Linked DNA regions of Homo sapiens: region 1 is linked to region 2. The links are contacts of gene promoters, found by promoter capture Hi-C in human tissues and cell types (Jung and others, 2019). All regions are on one chromosome and are shown on one strand. The core of a region is centred on a gene start or on the middle of the fragment in contact, and the rest is flanking DNA. Distances in the headings are between cores, read along the strand shown.

What was found. Contacts are between HindIII fragments. The study calls those that stand out against the background at their distance.
Region 1: a contact is called between a fragment that was not itself captured here and the fragment with the promoter of NANS in region 2, in 2 of the 25 tissues and cell types used here (small bowel and spleen).

What each region holds. Positions count from the first base shown.
Region 1 is chr9:97,962,027-97,967,337 of GRCh38, reverse strand. No RefSeq gene overlaps it. Among named protein-coding and RNA genes, the nearest start is that of ANP32B, 19 kb to the left of the region's middle. The HindIII fragment of the contact is 6,260 bases long and covers 1-5,311 here.
Region 2 is chr9:98,053,559-98,058,654 of GRCh38, reverse strand. NANS (N-acetylneuraminate synthase) reads right to left here and starts at 1,923. Exons shown (of 6, transcript NM_018946.4): 1 at 1,715-1,923. The coding sequence starts at 1,846. It also overlaps a transcript of TRIM14 not described here. RefSeq lists enhancers at 1,205-1,324, 2,365-2,414 and silencers at 1,575-1,744, 1,825-2,174. The HindIII fragment of the contact is 24,529 bases long and covers 1-5,096 here.

The DNA.
Region 1 (5,311 bases), core at 1,295-3,794, 92 kb after region 2:
TATATGGAGTTGGAAGTTGAAAGAACTAGGCTTTTTAAAGGACCAACGTAATTTACATATAAGCTATAAATGGAAACTGGATGCAATACATGCTCATTTAGGTTAAAGCTATTTCTGTACCAGGAGACCAATTAAAAGCCTGTGGCGGCCGGGCACAGTGGCTCACGCCTGTAATCCCAGCATTTTGGGAGGCTGAGGCGGGCAGATCACTTGAGGTCAGGAGTTTGACACCAGTCTGGCCAACATGGTGAAACCCTGTCGTCTCTATTAAAAATACAAAAATTAGCTGGTCGTGGTGGCACACGCCTGTAATCCCAGCTACTCAGGAGGCTGAGGCAGGAGAGTTGCTTGAACCTCGGAGGTGGATGTTGCAGTGAGCCAAGATCGTGCCACTTCACTCCAGCCTGGGCAACAGAGTGGGATTTCCTCTCAAAAAAAAAAAAAAAAAAAAAAAGCCTGTGTCAATAACCCATGTGTGAGTTGACTGAAGTCTGGAGTATGTTTTTTTGTTGTGAGAAGAGAAAGTTAGGGACAGATAGGGTAAATATTTCACAAGAAGACTTGACAAGGCTTTGTGACAGACTAGGTGTATTACATGAAGATGCAGGATGAGTCAAGTCCTATTTCAATGCAAACACCTGCCTGTTGAGTTCCTCTTCTCTTCACAGCTCGGGCCAATCAGCCCCTCTGCAGGCTCTGTCAAGTCAGGGAATTTAAAGGGCCCTGGTTCAATAGCTCAGCCTGTCTTCCAGGCTAACTTACACCTTTCATCCTACTTCTGGTATCTAAGCTCTCACCACACACCTCAGGTCTTTTTAAAAGCATGGTGATATTATGGAAAGAACACTGAATTTGGACTTGGTCAATATTTCATTCTTTCATTCACTGAGGCTCTCTACATCGCAGTATCGCCACTCCTCCAGACTGTTTTGGTAATCAGAACAATTGATTTCAAAGTTCTTGTTATGGTTCATAAGAAACTGAATAAGAGAAATTACCTGTGGGAGGGGAGTAGGTGGGATGAGGAAGAAGTAGGAGTGAAACTTTTTAGTGCATACCTTTTTATACTTAAAAATATTTTTTGAACCATATGAACACATTACTCTTTCAAAAAATATTTTTAAATCCTGAGTGGAATAAAATAAAAATATGTCTATAAATTAGGCTGCTGAAAAGGAATGGGGTGCAGAGATTGTCTACCACCTATTTGTGAGAATGTTGAGGTCCGTTAGACAGGCAGTCCTGTCACTTTGAGATAGATGGATTGCCATTTCTGCTTAATGACCAAAAATGGGAAATGGGTTACAGTGGAAAGAACTCCGCTCTGGAATAAAGACATCCGGGTCTGGGTCCTAGTTTAACTGTGTAACTTAGGTGGGTTCCATCCCCTCTCTGTGTCTTCTATTAGCTAAAGGAGAAGGACTGCATGATCTTTGAAACTCTTCCAGCTCTGACACGCTAGACTATAATGCTAATTTCTAAGCAACAGAGGTTGATTCCAACTCTAGGATAGGGCATGCAATTAATCCTAATTTATCAGCATAGTCCCACATCTTGTCACACTTATTGATTCAGAAGTGAGCACTATCTTAGATTGAGTTCTCCAGAAACAGAATTTAAGATGGAAAGTTGCATGCAGAAGGGTTTTTTTTTTTCATTTTTATTTTTTCTTATTTCTTTTTTTTAAATATTGAAACACGGTCTTGCTATGTTGCCCAGGCTGGACTTGAATGCCTGGGCTCAAGCAATCCTTCTGCCTCAGCCTCCTGAGTAGCTGGTACAGAATTGCATCTGTACCTAATATAGGCATGCACTACTGTGCATGGCATGCAGATGGTTTATTGAAAAGTGTTCTCAGGACATACAACTGTGAGGAAGTAAAGAAGACAGGGTTGGGTGTAGAGAGAAGCTGACCAGCAAAATAGTTGCTGGGTAGTTACAATGAAGGCTTTCTCTGGTCCCACTGGGAGCCCAGGAGCTGGGCTAGCCCTTCAGAGTTGTCCTAAGTTGAAGTGTATTCCCACATCAGCCTGTCACTGGCCTCAGGCTGTACCCTAGGAGAACATGAAATGGTTTCCTGAGGCTGAGAGCAGTAATATCCCCTGCAGCTGAAGGATGGGTGTATCTGCAGGGAAGAGGGGCACTGGGCAAGGCCCCACATAGCCACTGTAGGCATATGACTCAGTTTAGATTAACAGAGGTTCTCTAGGGGCTCCTGAGAGAGAGGCTTGTAGAAATGACCTTTGTCTATCTGGATATGGACAAGGACTTATGTAGCTCTGGGAATTGTTGGCAGCCATCTCACATCAAAGTCAGCTTTAATGACATTGGTGATCTGCTAAATCAAACCAAGCCTGGAGCCTGAATTACCCTGGACTTTTAGTGTGAACTTTTGTTGTTAGGTCAGTCTGTTGGTTGTGTTTTAGTTACTTACAAATGAATGTATTTTATTTCTTTGAGCAAGGATGGGTTAAAAAAAACAAAAACAAAATCAACAAAATCAACAAATGAATGGTTTTTTTTTTTTTTTGAGACGGAGTCTTGCTCTGTCACCCAGGCTGGAGTGCAGTGGCACGATCTCGGCTCACTGCAAGCTCTGCCTAATTTTTTGTATTTTTAGTAGAGACAGGGTTTCACTGTGTTAGCCAGGATGGTCTCGATCTCCTGACTTCATGATCCGCCCACCTCTGCCTCCCAAAGTGCTGGGATTACCGGTGTGAGCCACCATGCCTGGCCCTCTTCTGGGCAGGGTTTCTAAGGTGCTAGCTGAATAACTGTCTTAACTATCCTTTCTCTCCTTGATGAATGCCTTCTCTCTCTTGGCTTCTTTTCCTCCTCCCGATCCCTCCTCTTAAGCTTTAGGTTCCTGTTTCTTCTACAGGATTTCTTCTACAGGATTATTCTGGTACAGGCAAGCCCTATTTTCCCTGCCTTACCTTTAACTCGCACCAGGAGATCCCCAAGGTCCCTCTCAGCTCTAACACTATGAAGTCTGAAAAGTATGGAAACATCTTCCTAAATGTCACTTAAGTCATAAAGTCTCTTCCATTTACTTAATATTATTAGCCATTTTTTTCTATTGTTAGAGAAAACAGGCAGCAACCATGTGCAGCAACCATGTGCCAAGTTTGGTTTTGCTATCACATGGATTTTCTGTTTTAACATCACTTTACAACCTGAAAGTTTTTGTTTCCTGAGTTGAATCATCAATAAAATGTATATAAGGTTATATGGATTAAATGAGTTAATGTCTCTAAGGCCTCTAAAAAAGTACCTAACATATAGTTGTTAATGAGCACATTTGGAGTATGCGTGTGTTTGTGTATGTGTGTGCATTGTGCTTTAGGGATAAGAAAATACTGCTCTTACAAGTCACCTTTGGGGAGACAGACATTAACAAAAAGTGATATGTTCTAACTGTGATTCAATGTGATAAGGCCTTGTATCAGGACTATGTTAAAAGGAATAGAACCAAAGTACTGTAGAAATCCAGAGAGGCAGAAGGGACCAATTCTTGGGGTGCGTGGTGGCCCAGGAAGATTTTGCAGAGGGAGTGTCATTTTAGATGGGTTTCAAAGGCCAGGTAGTAGTAGCTTTCCAGGTTGACAGAAGATATTTCAGATACAGAAACTAGCAGAGACAGGGTTAAAAGAAGTAGATTTAAAATACCTAGTGTGTTGGGGAACTAGGGAAAATGTTTCATTACTTTAAGAATTGTAGCTACTGAAAGAATTGTGGTGAAGAGAACTTCCATGTGCTGGTTTCAAACAGCACATAACAAAGAGAACTTCCAAGATTAGAAGACCCTCAAGAAGCTTCTGTTCTGGATGGGAAGAAGCTCCCATGCACTACAATATGCGACCTTCACATTTTTTTTGTGTGTGTGTGGTAAAATTCATGTAACAGTCAGCATTTTAAAGTATATAATTCAATGGCATTTAGTACATTCACAGTGTCGTACAAATGCCACTGCTACCTAGTTCCAGAACATTTTCATCACAAAAGGAAACCCTGTACCCATTAAGCCATCACTCCCCATTCTGGCCTCCCCCAGTCCCTGGCAGCTACTATCTGCTTTCTATCTCTATGGGTTTACCTATTATGGACTTTTATTTTCTTTTCTTTTTTTGGGGGGGGGATAGGCTCTGGCTCTGTCACCCCGGCTTGAGTGCAGTGGAGGGCAGAGGTTGCTCACTGCAACCTCTGCCTTCTGGGCTCAAGTGATCTTCCCACCTCAACCTCCCAAGTAGCTGGGACCACAGGCATGCGCCACCATGCCTGGCTAATTTTTGTAGACATTTCATATAAATGTAATTATATAATATGTAGTCTTTCAATGCTGTGAACAAGTCACACAACATCTTAATATTATTGTGAAAATAATTTTGACCTAATGAACCTGCTGAAAGAGTATTAAGACCCCCAAGAGGTGTGCAGACCAGACTGAAAACCGCAGGTCTAGGTCATCAAGTAGTGTGGTTCCAGCTCCCCTTTCCAGTTTCTGTTCGGGCAAGGTGATTATCAGGCCCGTGTCCAGTCTGAGGGCTCCCCATCTCAGCTGCTCATCTGGGTGAAGACTCCATCAGCCATTTCCACAAAGCTGAGATTAACGCTACAACAATGGCTTCACATTTCAAACTGCTCAAAGGAACCAAACAACCAAATGGGGACACATTTTATTAGTAGTAAATCTGAAAGTGTTTTTTAAAAAAGACTCTGCCACAAACATTTCCTATAAAATGCTGATCACTATCTGCCACGATCATTACATTTTTATGGTTTCAATAATTCCCTTTTACCTGAGATGAGAGCCATCATGTACTTTTGAATATCAAGCAGCAGCCCATGCCATAAATTGCTAACCCCCTTCTCCTCTAATGATCACAGCTTATTTTATTCTTTAAGTATTCTTCTCAGAGTAATTAGCACGCTTATTATACAGCATATTCAAATGTTAATGTGCACACTGTACTGACGCTATTGTGAGACACGTTTTGCTCAGGAGCTAAAATTATGTTGCCATTCTGCTTGGTGCTAGGGGTTCTGTGCTTGAAACCTGTTTCCCACATGCAAGGAGCCAAGGTTATTTAATTGGAATGCTGAGCTAGAATGAGAAGAGTCTGACACTTAATATAGAACCTGTAAGCTAAACGGGGTCAGCAAGTACAGGGCCTACACACTTTGAATTAGCTATCCACCACTGGGGAGACAATCAATATTTGAGCAGACTGGCTTAGGGGCATGTTTGACATCGTTCCTCCAGGGTCTCCACTAAACTCTGCACTGCCTCAGCAGGTTGGACCACCAGAAG
Region 2 (5,096 bases), core at 674-3,173:
TGCACCTGGTCAGTACAGCTTTGTTTCTATGGCTTCAGTATCTCTAGATATTTCTACAACTTCGGCATTCCAAGAGGAAAAACAGACTGCTCCTTCAAATTAAGAGTGGGAATTTCCCTCTAGAAAACAATGTTGCAGAAGAAAGGCTGGAGTCCTGTGGCTTAGGAGCAAAAACTGAAAAAACCCCTTACTGTATTTATTATACTAGCTATGTGACCTTGCCTAAGTCACTTATTTTCTCTTAGCCTTTAAAATGAAATCGGCAGCATCATGGCATTGGGTTGTTGTAAAAATTAAATGAGATGGTGCATGTACAGCATTTAGCTTAGTACCTGGTAGAGTAAGCACTCAAAAAATGTTAGCAATGTTATTTTTGTAAAGTATTTTTATGATTCAGTGATTAGGTTTCCATAAAACCAGTCCCGAAGGAACAGCAAGGGCCGAGGGTGGTGGCTCACACCTGTAATCCCAGCACTTTCGGAGGCCAAGGTGGGCAGATTGCTTGAGCTCAGGAGTTCGAGACCAGCCTGGGTAACATGGCCAAACCCCATCTCTACAAAAAAATTAGCCCAGCATGGTGGTTCACGCCTGTGGGTCCCAGCTACTCGGGAGGCTGAGGTGGGAGAATCACTTAAGCCTGGGAGGCAGAGGTTGCAGTGAGCCGGGATCATGCCACTGCACTCCAGCCTGGGTGATACAGAGACCCTGTCTCAAAAAAAAAAAAAAAAAAAACCAGGAAAAAAAAAAAAAAACAGTAAGAGAAAACCTCCAGCCTGGGTGACAGAGCAAGACCCTGTCTCTAACATAGATAAATAAATAAATAAACATTTAAAAAACCTATCACAAATGATACAAAATCAGTTGAGTAGCATTGATGAAGGGAAAGGAAAGATGGGGTGAGCTATCTCTAAACCAAAGAATCATAGTGCAGGCCAGGCCTTATGCTGGGGGCTGGGGTCGTAATGAAGAATATGGCAGTCCCAACAGAAGAGGGAGCACGCATTTACCGACTCATGTGTGCCAAGTGCTGGGCTCAGAGCTCTATCTGAGAATCTCATTTGATCCCCATAACAACTCCATGTGGAAAGAACTGTTGTTTTCAAGCCCCGTTTTCAAATGGGGAAAAGGGTTCACGGAGGCTAAGTAAGCAGCCCATGTTCACACAGCTAGTAGTGGTGGAACTGAGATTTGAACTCAAAGGCCCGGCTTTTAACCACTTCATATTTCATATACAGGGAATGGCGGGTGAGAGAGACCACAGCAACTTCCAGGAACTGTCATTCCTGAAAGTAACTCTGTGTCGCTGAAGAATGTCAGAGAAGAATTATGACGGGCTGGAAGGGGCCCAGTCATTAAAATCTTGAAGGCTATGTTAAAGGGTTTCGACTCTACCCGCGGGCAGGAGGGAGCCACAGAAGGTGCCAGGCAGGGGGGATGGTCTGATCAAGTCTGACTTTTAGAAAGATTATTCTGGCACCAGAACGGGGAGGAAACAGGTCGGGTTAGGAGGCAGCTGCTGTAATGCAGAAAGGTCACGAGGGTGGCGGACACGGTGAGGAAGAGGGATCCGAAGGATTCCGAAAACGGAACTGGCGGGCGGGAAGAGGCCGGACCAGGGTACCCAGCCGCGGAGGCCGTGTGGCCCTGGCTCCCCGCGGCCCCGCCCCGCCCCTCCCGGCGCCCGAATCCCGGGTCCCGGGAGCTGCCGCCTCACCTTGGCCATGCGGATCATGCGCTTGGCTACGTCCAGGTCGCCCTGGTGGTTCTGGCCGATCTCGGCAATGATGAAGCACGGGTGTTGCCCGCCCACCCAGCGCCCGGGACACAGCTCCAGCTCCAGCGGCATTGCAGCGGCTCGGGGTCCAAAGCCTCACTACCAGTCTGGGTCCGGCCGCCGCCGCCGCCGCCTCTACTCTGTTCTGTGAGCAACGCTGCGAGACCCACACGCCAGCCCCGCCACGTCAGCCCGCGGTCGCCGGGCAGCCAATCCCCTAGGCCCCGCCTCTCTCCCGACAGCCAATCGGGGCGGGGGGCGGGGGCGGGGCCTCCCGCGGGAAGGGCGGCGGGGCGGGTCGAGGAAGCTCCGCGGCCCTCTCCTGTGCGAGGCTTGAGGCTTGCTGTCCCAGAGCGTGGTCTCGGACCATCGCGGTATCCGTGCGTGCACCCAGGAGCAAGCATTCCCTGCAGGAGGCGGACGGCTGCCTGCGCAGGGCATAGTCTATGTCCTGCTCTCAGGAGCATGGGGAGAGCGCGCCCTATGGTGTAATGGAAAAAACAGGGTTGCTAGAGTTAGAATCACAGAGCTGGATCGAGTCCAGCCTATGCCAGTCACCAGCTCCTGCTCATATATACGTTACTCAGTCTTCCGGAGCGTTATTTTTGTTTCTCTCTGAAGCAAAAAAATAAAATAGAACTGTGAGATGACGTATAGAAACCCCTGATCACAATACTTGGCTTGTAGTAAGTTTTCAAGAAGTGGCGGAGGTTCCTATTATATGAGAGGCAACAGGTTCGAGAAGTTGCACTGGCTTGTCCAAAGCCATCCAGAAAGCCAAAGCAGAGATGGGACTAGTACCCGGACCTCCCAGCCCCAGGCTCTTAAAATACAATCACCTGGGCGGGCGCGGTGGCTCACACCTGTAATCCCAGCACTTTGGGAGGCCAAGGCAGGCAGATCACCTGAGGTCAGGAGTTCGAGACCAGCCTGACCAATATGGAGAAACCCCGTCTCTACTAAAAATACAAAAAAATTAGCCGGGCGTGGTGGTGCGTGCCTGTAATCCCAGCTACTCGAGAGGCTGAGGCAGGAGAATCGCTTGAACCCGGGAGGTGGAGGTTGCAGTGAGCCCAGATCACACCACTGCACTCCAGCCTGGTGACACTGCAAGACTCTGTCTCAAAAATAAATAAATTAATTAATTAATTTAAAAAATAAGATAAGTTATTTCCCAAAATAAACCTCCTTCTTTCCTGGGAACTAGACTGCCTTTGTAGGACTAACAAATTAGCCACAAGATTAGACACGTAGGAGTCATGCACCTGGAGGCTACAAGATTCTGACCCTCCCCAAATTGCTCCTGGGGATAACATCACTATTGTAAAACCTAAGACCAGTGCTTGAGATATTTTGCAGACCCTGCACTTGATGGATCAGCTGGCACCACCAGATTGATAAACTGGTTCATCTGATCTTGTGTCCCCCAACCAGGAACTGACTTGGCACAAGAAGACAGCCTTGACTTTCTATGATTTTATCTCCAACACAACCAATCAGCACTCCTGGCATACTGGCCTCTCTTAACCCACCACATTATCCTTAAAAACTCTGATCTCCAAGGTGGGGCATAGTGGCTCACACCTGTAATCCTAGCACTTTGGGAGGCTGAGGCGGGTGGATCACCTGAGGTCAGGAGTTCGAGACCAGCCTTGCCAACATGGTGAAACCCTGTCTCTACTAAAAATACAAAATGAGCCAGGTATGGTGGTGCATGCCTGTAATCCCAACTACTTGGGAGGCTGAGGTAGGAGAATCGCTTAAACCTGGGAGGCGGAGGTTGCAGTGAGCTGAGATTGTGCCATTGCACTCCAGCCTGGGCAACAAGAGCGAAACTCCATTTCAAAAACAAACAAACAAAAACCCCAAAAACCTCTGATCCCTGAATGCTAGGGGAAATTGATGTGAGTAATAATAAAACTCAGCCAGACTGCACAGCTGGCTCTGCATGAATTACTCTCTCTATTGCAATTCCCCTATTTTGATAAATCAGCTGTGTAGGTAGTGGGCATGGTGAACCAGTTGAGCAGTTAAAAATTTGGGGGCTCATTCGGGATTGCTCTTGTGCTACCTGCCCCGGTTCTGTAGACCCCCTCTGGCGATGGATCCAGAGGCCAGCCCAAGCGGCCACCTAGTTTTGGACTGGGGGCTGACTCTGGCGTCATCTCTATCGGCAGGGCACTACTAGCCCAATATGTATGGAGTACACTTTGCAATAGAGAAATTGTCCTGGGGAGATATCTCATAACTAGAGCTCCATGGCAAGGTGTCCCTCTGTAGCTCCACCATGGGGTGCCTGTAACTGTAACCTTATCACAGTGTCTGTTTGTAGCCCCATCATGGATTGTCTGCAGCTGCAGCCCCATTATGGGGTGTCTGATTTGGTGAGTAGTCTAGGTGCTGCCAACACCCCTTTCCTTCTCCCAATTGGTTCAGCTTCTTCAGGGGTCTCGGTTTACTCTCCCTAATTAGTAGGAAGAGTCTTGGTTCTGGAGACTTCTCCTCAATCAGTAAGATTTCGGGGAGACTTCTCAGATGGAGAATAGGATAGTTTGGAAGGAATACTCTTGGAATTCTTGGTTAGGGATCTTGGTTTGGAAGGCCTTCTGTCCGTCTTGTCTTTGTGTGTGTGTTTGTATATGTGGAGGGGATCTCTGAGGGAATTTCTGATGCAAGTCCAGCAGGCCTAACTCAGAAAACCCTCTGTAAGTATGGTCACATTCAGTGAGCTCTGAAAAAAAAGCTTAACAGGCCTGACTGTTAAGGGGTAACTCTCTGCTCTTTGTCTTGCCCAGAGACTACTCATTGATGCCATCCCTCCCCACCTTGAGTGGATCAAAGATGATAGGGACCAAAGGAAGACAGTTTGAGCCTTGCTAGGGTGATACTGGGTGCCCAATGAGGTGACTACTATCTGTTTTGTTATGTGTATTTTGCTTCAGCTGAGACGGAAAATGTTAATTCGGTTCTCCATGCAGCCCATCGGGCAGCATCTTACAAAGTTGAGAAGCTTTGCCTATGGTTCCATAAAACAGAAAAGGATGATATTTATTTATTTATTTATTTATTTATTTATTTTGTAGTGGGCTTGGCCCCCACAGCTATAGCATAGTGAACAGTTATCAAAGGCCGCTCCGTTCTTCTGGAAGCTGCAGAGAAAGGGAACCTGGAAACCTGGTATGCCGGCAAAAAGGGTAACAACTTATTAGCCAACTTTCTGGCCTGTATGTGTGTGTGTGTGTATGTTAAACATCACTGTCTCCTCTACAAAGGTCTGATTAATAGAAAAAAAGACTTATGAGACTAGTTTAGGCTATAGAAA